2 separate regions of the Homo sapiens genome follow, and region 1 is linked to region 2. The links are contacts of gene promoters, found by promoter capture Hi-C in blood cells and fetal thymus (Javierre and others, 2016). All regions are on one chromosome and are shown on one strand. The core of a region is centred on a gene start or on the middle of the fragment in contact, and the rest is flanking DNA. Distances in the headings are between cores, read along the strand shown. Region 1 holds the start of MGMT (O-6-methylguanine-DNA methyltransferase). Region 2 holds the start of IKZF5 (IKAROS family zinc finger 5).

Region 1 (4,819 bases), core at 2,250-4,749, 6.5 Mb after region 2:
CATCCGAGCCTCCCTGTCCTGTGTTCCTTACTCTTCAGTGGACCCGGCGACCTCCCGGCTTTGGAGCCATCCTGTGTTCCTTTAACAGTAGGACGAACACACAGGCGATGATGAGATTGTAATGGGACAAGGGGGAGAGGCGTGGGGAGCTCTTGATGAAAACTTGGGTTTTTGAAATTACCATGATGAAGGGAGGAGCTTGCACCAGCAGGTGTAAGGAGTGTGAGTTTGAGTTCTGCTCATCAGACAGCCTAAGCAGTCACATCCTTGAATCCTGGTCTTTTGCAGGCCAGTCCTTGGTCAGGTGGTGGCCTTTTTCCTCTTTCCCCTCTGCACTGAGACCCTTATTTGGCTCCTGATCCTGGAGCCCCTGACACAGTCCTTACCACTGAAGTAGCTGTGGCCCTTCACATAGTTCTTCCCACCACGCCAGCAAGGGGACTGAGTTCTTTCAGTACAGCCAGGGCCAGGTCCACACATCTCCCTGGGAAGCCAGCACTTTCTCTCGTGGACCGCCTCCCCATTCCCACAGGGCCCTCCTAAAGGGCCTTTGGATGACCACATTGGCCTTTCTTTCCTAGGGTGGGGAATTAGAGATGCTAAGACTGGCCAGTCTCTTTTTCTTAAGAGTTTAGGGATTCGTCTTAAAATATTATTCAGATAAACGTATGAGTCATGTGTTAACTGCAAAACTACTTAACAGCACACTTGTTAGAATATCAGTCGGCACTCTGATTCCATTTCGGCATTGTTTTTCCTTTGGTTCTATTAAGATCCCGGTTCTAACTGGGTCCTGGTAGTAACAGGCTGTAAGTGGCCAGGTGTATAGCATTATTTCTTAGTAGTGTGGTGTGGTGCTGGTGGTTTATTTTCCCTATGCACACATGCCCTAATATGGAAGGATAGTTTGTACACACGTAGGGTACGTTATCATGAGACTCCTTTACAGAGTATGAAACTGAGGATTAGAGAAGTCAGACGAGTTTCCCGAAGTCTTATAGAAGGCTAATGGAAAAAACCAGAGCCAAGGGCAAACATGTTTCATCTGTCCTTCCACATTAGTTTAAATGTGAATGGCTGCTTGGAACACAGTGTTGAGAAGGATTCCGAGGCTGTGTCCAGGTTCAGTGGGGAAAAAGTGCCTTGATTTGACCATTATATCGTGTACTCAGGGCCTAGTTTATTTCCCACAAGCAGCTATTTAAAACATGTCTCATCCAAGGCAGGGTCGGGGTGGGGAACCTCAGAGGATCAATGATGCAGCCTGTATTGTCACCAGGGCTCATCCCAAAGCAAATCCTGCTGAAGTTCTCCTCTGAACAACCCTTATCACTCATGCTAATATGTTGGATCCTGCAAGTCACAAATACGAAGGTATGAGCATTGGCCGAATCCCAACAGGGAAACTTCACCGGGAAGGTGAAGACCCCTTTCCATTAAGATAACAAACAGAACCTAGAAGGCCCGTAGCATGGTGGCTTAGAACATGTGGGCCTTGGATGGGATCCTGCCAAGGGGTGTGTGACCTCTCCGAAGCCTCCAGGGATGATACTACTCCCTGGGGTGCTTATGCCAACCACGTTAGAGACAATGGTTTCTGTACCCATTGCCTGGGGCTGCCATAATAAAGTGCCACACACTGAGTGGCTTAAAACAACAGAAACCTATTGTCTCACACTTCCGGGGGCCAGAAGTTTGAAACCCAGGTGTGTTAGGATCCTGCTCCCTCTGAAGGCTCCAGGGAAGAGTGTCCTCTGCTCCCTCCGAAGGCTCCAGGGAAGGGTCTGTCCTCTTAGGCTTCTGGTGGCTTGCAGGTGCAGCCCTCCAATCCTCCTCCCCAAGCGGCCTTCTGCCTATAAGGACACGAGTCATACTGGATGAGGGGCCCACTAATTGATGGCTTCTGTAAAGTCCCCATCTCCAAATAAGGTCACATTGTGAGGTACTGGGAGTTAGGACTCCAACATAGCTTCTCTGGTGGACACAATTCAACTCCTAATAACGTCCACACAACCCCAAGCAGGGCCTGGCACCCTGTGTGCTCTCTGGAGAGCGGCTGAGTCAGGCTCTGGCAGTGTCTAGGCCATCGGTGACTGCAGCCCCTGGACGGCATCGCCCACCACAGGCCCTGGAGGCTGCCCCCACGGCCCCCTGACAGGGTCTCTGCTGGTCTGGGGGTCCCTGACTAGGGGAGCGGCACCAGGAGGGGAGAGACTCGCGCTCCGGGCTCAGCGTAGCCGCCCCGAGCAGGACCGGGATTCTCACTAAGCGGGCGCCGTCCTACGACCCCCGCGCGCTTTCAGGACCACTCGGGCACGTGGCAGGTCGCTTGCACGCCCGCGGACTATCCCTGTGACAGGAAAAGGTACGGGCCATTTGGCAAACTAAGGCACAGAGCCTCAGGCGGAAGCTGGGAAGGCGCCGCCCGGCTTGTACCGGCCGAAGGGCCATCCGGGTCAGGCGCACAGGGCAGCGGCGCTGCCGGAGGACCAGGGCCGGCGTGCCGGCGTCCAGCGAGGATGCGCAGACTGCCTCAGGCCCGGCGCCGCCGCACAGGGCATGCGCCGACCCGGTCGGGCGGGAACACCCCGCCCCTCCCGGGCTCCGCCCCAGCTCCGCCCCCGCGCGCCCCGGCCCCGCCCCCGCGCGCTCTCTTGCTTTTCTCAGGTCCTCGGCTCCGCCCCGCTCTAGACCCCGCCCCACGCCGCCATCCCCGTGCCCCTCGGCCCCGCCCCCGCGCCCCGGATATGCTGGGACAGCCCGCGCCCCTAGAACGCTTTGCGTCCCGACGCCCGCAGGTCCTCGCGGTGCGCACCGTTTGCGACTTGGTGAGTGTCTGGGTCGCCTCGCTCCCGGAAGAGTGCGGAGCTCTCCCTCGGGACGGTGGCAGCCTCGAGTGGTCCTGCAGGCGCCCTCACTTCGCCGTCGGGTGTGGGGCCGCCCTGACCCCCACCCATCCCGGGCGAGCTCCAGGTGCGCCCCAAGTGCCTCCCAGGTGTTGCCCAGCCTTTCCCCGGGCCTGGGGTTCCTGGACTAGGCTGCGCTGCAGTGACTGTGGACTGGCGTGTGGCGGGGGTCGTGGCAGCCCCTGCCTTACCTCTAGGTGCCAGCCCCAGGCCCGGGCCCCGGGTTCTTCCTACCCTTCCATGCTGCCAGCTTTCCCTCCGCCAGCTGCTCCAGGAAGCTTCCAGAAGCCCCTGCGCGGGCCTTGGCTTGCAGCAACCCTTTAGCATACTTAGGCAGAGTCCCATATTTCCTTCCTGCTGGAGGCCAAGTTCTAGGGGCCTTCTGGTTACTATGGCTGGTGTTTGTGTACATCATACCCTAACTGTATTCATCAACACTTAGAGTAAGCAAGGCTCGCTGGAGAGCCACACACACTGGGCACCGTAATGTCGGTTATAACACCGCAGAGGAGTTCTGAACTATGTATTTCGCACTCCTGGGTTCATCATCTCCTGAAATCTCAGGGTGGTGTTTGCTCTCAGTTGCTTCAGCTGAGTAGCTGGCTTTCTGTCCTGGAAAGCAGACTTTGTACATGTGTGTGCAACCTATGCCTGCTGAGATCATCATCAGACAGGGAAGCGGCTTGGTCCAGAGAGCTGTTCTCAGTAGAATGTTAAGCACAGAGAGCTGAGAATTAGACTGGTTATTTACATAGACATCCAAATAGAAACCTATAGAGTATCTGTTAAGTCAGGCTCTCCCGTCATCTCCCCCATCCCTGGGCAGGTGTCTAGGAGATGGTTTTGTTATTTTCAGGGCCCTCTCAATGGCTAAAACACTCTGGGAGATGAACAAGATTTTAAAAACCCAAAGCTTAGCGCACCTGGTGGGTGGGGGTGTGAAAACTTTGAAGGAAACCGCGTCAAGAGCCTGGCTGATTGTTAATATCACGTTAACTCAGAGGGCCAGGATACTTGCCCAGACCCGGAGTCTGCCTGCAAGTAGCAGAGGAGAGCTGGCCTTGCTCTGCCGCGTGTCTTTCTTCCTGGGCCCTCTGTCTCGGGTTGGAATTTGAATAGTGGAGTAGTGTCTGCCACAGTCAGGGGCCTGGATGAAGTAGACCACCAGTACGGAGCTATACTCAGGTACTTTTCAATGTATATATCTTCATTAAAAAAAAAAAATCTGGGCCAGGCACAGTGGGTCACGCCTGTAATCTCAGCACTTTGGGAGGCCGAGGTGGGTGGATCACCTGAAGTCAGGAGTTTGAGACCAGCCTGGCCAACATGGTGAAACCCAGTTTCTACTAAAAACACAAAAATTATCCAGGCGTGGTGGTGCATGCTGGTAATCCCAGTTACTTGGGAGACTGAGGCAGGAGAATTGCTTGAACCTGGGAGGCGGAGGTTGCAGTGAGCCGAGATTGCGCCATTGCACTCCAACCTGGGCGACGAGAGTGAAACTGTCCTGAAGGGGAAACAAAAAAATCTGTATCAAAATAAGGATTTAACTAATAGTATTAGGCACTACTTTAAAAAGGCTTTGCTGTTAGTAAGGTTGAAAGAAATAGAGCCCTAGGTATACATTGGGTAGCACCTTGTTCAGCTGCTCAGATTCTTGAACCTTGTTGAGGTCTTACTTTGATATCACCTGGGCCTTACTTTTCGTTGTTTGGGTTTCCTCCCCAGGTGTCTCAATCAGGGCCTCCTCTGTCCTTTTGCAGGGAAGAAGGGGGTAGGAAGGGCCTGAAAAAGAACTTGCCTTCCCCATTGCCCCCTCAGAGTTTGTTCCTCTCCAGTCCTCTTCCCACCCTTTCTTAGGACACCAAAACCCTGACTCTTTCAGTATTTTATAATAAAATAAAGTTACTAAA
Region 2 (4,760 bases), core at 526-3,025:
TCTAACCTTTTCACCCCAAATCTGTTCCTCCTTTTTCTTGCCACTCCAACATTGATGAAATGTAGAGTAATTGAAATTTACTTCGGAGATACAGCAAGGGACTCCAAAAGGCCATGGAGAGAGAATTTCAACTAAAATTGAAAAGCCATACAGAGGTCTGCATAAAAAACAAACAGCACACCACAAATCAAAACCTTTAAGATAAAAACTTAATTAGCATCTACAGGTTGAATGAGCTAGTAACTTATGCCAATCTTATCATTACATTAGCTGAAAAGAAAACGAACTGACAGATTAATCAAAGAACAAAGCAGTAGCTTCACTTCAGCAAAAGCTCCATAGGATCACCAAAGAATAACTGGTGTGACTACCGTTTTCTCACTGGTGGATTAGTTTTTGGCAAGATTTTTAATGTCTAAATTTAAGTTAAACTTCAGTTTAAAGAAATTAAGATTAACTTCATTTAGTCACAGCACACTTCCAAAACGGTCAAGCTTAGTACTGCTGAACAGCTGTAGTTGCATAAAAACAACGCATAGTCCTAAGTAGGGAAATGGGAAAGGGCTTTAAATACAAAAACAAAAAAAACATGCACACCCGATAAGGGCACATCTGAATCCCATCCTTCTTATCCTATCATAACACAAAACAGCTACGGTTTTCTGGGAAACATCCTGGACCGCTAGGGGAAAATAACACCAGACATTTCAATTCACTGTAACGAACTCTCATCAATAATAATAACCTTTAGCTGTTGTGACAACACGACATAAATCAAAATTAAATTGAATTTTTAAAATTGTTAGTTCCTACGTTTAAAAAAAAGTTGTTTTAAATACATTCTGTTCTTTCAAAACTGAATTTCCTCAGATCACACAATTTAAGACGCCTTTATGTCTTCTTCCGCTTGTCACACGTCTTTCGGGTTCTGACCAGCACATCAAGGGGACTCTAAGCAGGCCACGTGGTTAGTGTTTGCTAGAACTTGTTTAGCTTCAGATCCAGTCATCGAGCATGCTAGGCTTGGCTACTCGCGCTCCACACAGTTTATCCAAAGATCTAAACCCCGAATGAACCTGAATAGTTATTTGCTACAATGTCTTTCTCAAATCTCACATGTTCCTAAAATAAGGGTGCCCATGCAGTAGAGACGGATCCGGGCAGGATCATTAGATAAAATACGAAGGCTTTAAACGTCCTTCTCCCAACAATCAGCCTGGGACCGGCGTCGGGGCAGCAGCCTCACCAAGATTCGGAGCGACATCCTCGCCAGGATTCGAAACACCTAGGAGACCCGCGCCCGGCTGACTCCCAGCCCCTGGGACCCCGTGAAGACGCAAACCTCGGGACGCCTCCCGCAGAACCACCTGTCAGAGCCAAGCAACAGTCCCCGCCCCGGAGCCTCCGAGCTCCTGCTCGAAGGCAATGACAGCAGGAGACCCCGCTCCCTCGGGGTTCTCGCGGCCATAGGCGCCGCAGTCCACTGCCCTCCGGCTAAAGAGGTCCCGGGCCATCACCTGCCCGCCTACCGACCACGCCCGACCCTCCACTGAACTGAGTCTCCGTCCGGATCAGCCGGCCCGCCACGAACCCAGCTCCAGTCTCCGGCCGCTCCTTCTTATCCGCCCTGTCCTGCCGCGTCGCCGCCGTCCGAGCCGGCAGCCTGCTACTTACCTCCTGACAACTGCATGGAGTAAACCACACCGCCTTGTTAAATGCCGTCGCCGCCGCCGCCGTCTTCGTCACCGTCACAGTCGCCGCCGCCATCTTTGTTGTGTCTCCGACTCCCTTCCCGCCCCCCTGCCTTGCTCAAGTCTCGCGTGAGCAGGATGGAGGGCGAAAGCGAGGAGGGGCCTGTTTGTCTCTCTTGGGGTTCCGTAGGCAGCAGGGGGCAGGGATTAAGGGGGGGTGTGTGCGGGGCGGGTACTGAGTGGGCGGGGCCTTGCTCGGGTAACTCCCAGGGGCTGGCTAGAGACCCAGAGGCGCAGAGCGGAGAGGCCTGCGGCGAGGATGGAGGGCCTGGCAGTGCGGTTGCTGCGCGGCAGCAGGCTGGTGAGTGCGTTCGAGGCTGGCGTCCTGGGGGCCCAGGGCGACCTTGGCCCCTGGAATCGCAGCTGGCAGAGCCTTCTAACGGGCCTCGGGGCGCCGGCCTGAGCCCCGCTCCACGTCCTGGGTCCCCAGACTCTTTACCCGCGGGCAGTCTATGACCCCGACCCCCTTCAGGCCTCTGGTGGAGGCAGCTGGTGGCAAGGGGGTCGGGGCTGTCTAGAAGCTGCTTTGGCGGAGCAAGTACCTTGAGTGGAGTCGGAGGGTCGCGTCCGCAAGATGTCCTTTGCAGGCCGTTGCGTCCTGAGAGCCACCGAGTCTGGATCTCTGGATCTCTGGATGCATTTTGCACAGATGTCACCTCCCTGATGCCCTAACGCACCTTTCCCGAGTGATTACATTTCACACCCCCTCCCCCAAAAAAGATAGTTAAAATATAGGCCCAGTCTCATTCTGAGCAGGTGTCTCCCTGTCCTTCCTTCCGCGGCCCCGCTCAAAGGTAGTAAGGGACTTCGGAGTTGTTCGGGCTTCCCGGCCAGGGACAGAGTTCCCTCTGCCCCTTATCTCATGTCTGGAGCCTGGGTATCTTCCGTGGATAGACTCACCGCCGCCCAGGGGAGCCGGAGCCGGTGCCGGTCCCTCTTCCATGAACTTAAGCTGAAACCAGCCTCTTGTTGTGCTTAATTCTTATCTGTGCACCCACACAAACTGTTAACAGCCCCTGTGTTAACATCCTATGCTCTTCACCCCTTGGACCTATTATATAGCATGCTTTTCAGAACATACACATTTGGATACACTTGTATTTGTCAGTACACTTCACTGGGAATTTTCCCACTGCTTACGTGTGCTTTTAATGTTTCCTTTGCATTTGCTTTAATGAGTTAGGCTTTCCAACTGCTGCTTCAGTCTTATGCCCAGAGGCAGAACTCTGACCCTTTTTCTTATTAGAGATAATTAATGTTATTTGACTGTTTTACAGGCCTGAAGTGCAATAAAAAACAGTAAGTGATTATTGTTTAATACTGTTTATAATTGTTGGTTAATAACTTAGCAAAGAAAATTTCTTTGGTTTTACAATTTGACTCTGTTTTAGAGCCAAAATTTATTGACCGCATACTCTGTGGTAGGCACGTTCTCGTTCTACCTGAGTCATCTCAATTCTCACAACCATCTTAACAAGTAGTTTAATCTTGCAGATGCTGAAAAAGAATAATAGCTTGCCCACAGATAGAAAGGGATAGAGCTGGTGGTATTCGAACTCTGGTCTGATTCTAAACTTAACCTTCATATACTACTGTCTCCCCGTCCTTAGAGATATCAAAAACCTATTTTGTTTGAACTTTTGGTTTATTGTGGCTTATAGTCCTTTATAGTTTTTGAAGCTCTTTTACATAAATTAGCTAAATTGATTGAACATCGACTGTAGCATAGTGGTTAAGAACGTAGGTTCTGTAGCTAGGCTGCTTGGATCTGAACCCAGGCCCTCTCACTTCCTAGTGGTATAACCTTGGACAGGTTATGCTTTGGGTCTCAGTTTCCTGGTCTGTAAATGGAGAGAATAATTGTGCGTATTCCAAAATTGTTGTGAAAATTAAATGAGCTCATATGTTCATGTAAGGCACTTAGAATAGTGCTCGGAATGTAGTCAGCTCTCGGTAAATATCAGCTCTTACTGCCATGCACGAAGCATTGTGTGCTATGCCAGATGTAATAATGAATAAAATACTCTACCTCCAAGAAGTTTATCTTTTAGAGGAAAGGTTAGAACTATGTGCAACTAACCCCATGTCATGTAGGTGTGGAACAAATCCTAAGGGGCTACAGTCTGCGTGCAGATTCAGAAGATAGAAATGACTAGGACCATTGGGGAAGTGATAGGCTCTTTGGAAGCTGGGTTAGAGTTTAGGAGGGGAAAGGAGTGGTCAGAAAACTGCAACAAAAGGGGACTGAGGCCACTTTAGGGAATTGGGGGTTGATCCTTTTGGATTGTTAGGAGCCATTGAAGGTCAAGAGCTTTGGAGTTTCCTCATGCCACAGTGTAGGTAGATGGCTGTGGACACAAGTGGCATGGAGTGGGGAGAAATGCAAGGTAGGGCTAATTTTGGTTTCTATCCAGAGGCAAATGGAAAGCTAGCATTTACTCACTTATTGTAGACCAGGGACAGCATTTTACACCCACTACCCTATTTACTCTTCCTGTAAACCTCTGAAGTAGGTATATTAGTGGCTTCATCTTGCAAATGAGGAACTCGGAGGCAATAACCAGTGTTCCCAAGTCACATAACAATCAGATTGCAATGCTGACCTTCAGCCTACCCCTGCCTTCTCAGAAGGTCTCTCCTAGTCCTGCAGATGGATTAGAACTGTCCTGCCCATTTGGTCTAAGCAACCCAATTAGTGGAGAATTGGACCTTGTAGTTAACCTGTGGTTCCAAAGCATTTTAATGTAGCTTGATATCTTTTTTTTTTTTTTTTTGAGACGGAGTCTTACTCTGTCGCCCAGGTTGGAGTGCTGTGGTGCGATCTCAGTTCACTGTAACCTATGCCACCCGGATTCGAGCGATTCTCCTGCCTCAGCCTCCCGAGTAACTGGGATTACAGGCGCCTGCCACCTTGCCTGGCTAATTTTTGTAGTTTTAGTACAGATGGGGTTTCACCATCTTGGTCAGCAAGATGGAAATGGTCTCAAACTCCTAACTTCATGATCCACC

The links. The method cuts DNA at HindIII sites, captures the fragments that hold promoters and counts their contacts. A CHiCAGO score of 5 or more calls a contact.
Region 1: a contact is called between a fragment that was not itself captured here and the fragment with the promoter of IKZF5 in region 2, in 1 of 17 cell types (monocytes). The highest score is 7.2, in monocytes.

Annotation. Positions count from the first base shown.
Region 1 is chr10:129,464,469-129,469,287 of GRCh38, forward strand. MGMT (O-6-methylguanine-DNA methyltransferase) reads left to right here and starts at 2,773. Exons shown (of 5, transcript NM_002412.5): 1 at 2,773-2,828. RefSeq lists silencers at 2,413-2,852, 2,873-3,072 and an enhancer at 2,639-3,561. The HindIII fragment of the contact is 635 bases long and covers 3,183-3,817 here.
Region 2 is chr10:123,007,020-123,011,779 of GRCh38, forward strand. It overlaps IKZF5 (IKAROS family zinc finger 5), which reads right to left and starts at 1,776. Exons shown (of 5, transcript NM_001372123.1): 1 at 1,675-1,776; 2 at 7-157. ACADSB (acyl-CoA dehydrogenase short/branched chain) reads left to right here and starts at 1,987. Exons shown (of 11, transcript NM_001609.4): 1 at 1,987-2,052. The coding sequence starts at 2,011. RefSeq lists enhancers at 1,053-1,282, 1,563-1,892. The HindIII fragment of the contact is 4,856 bases long and covers 493-4,760 here.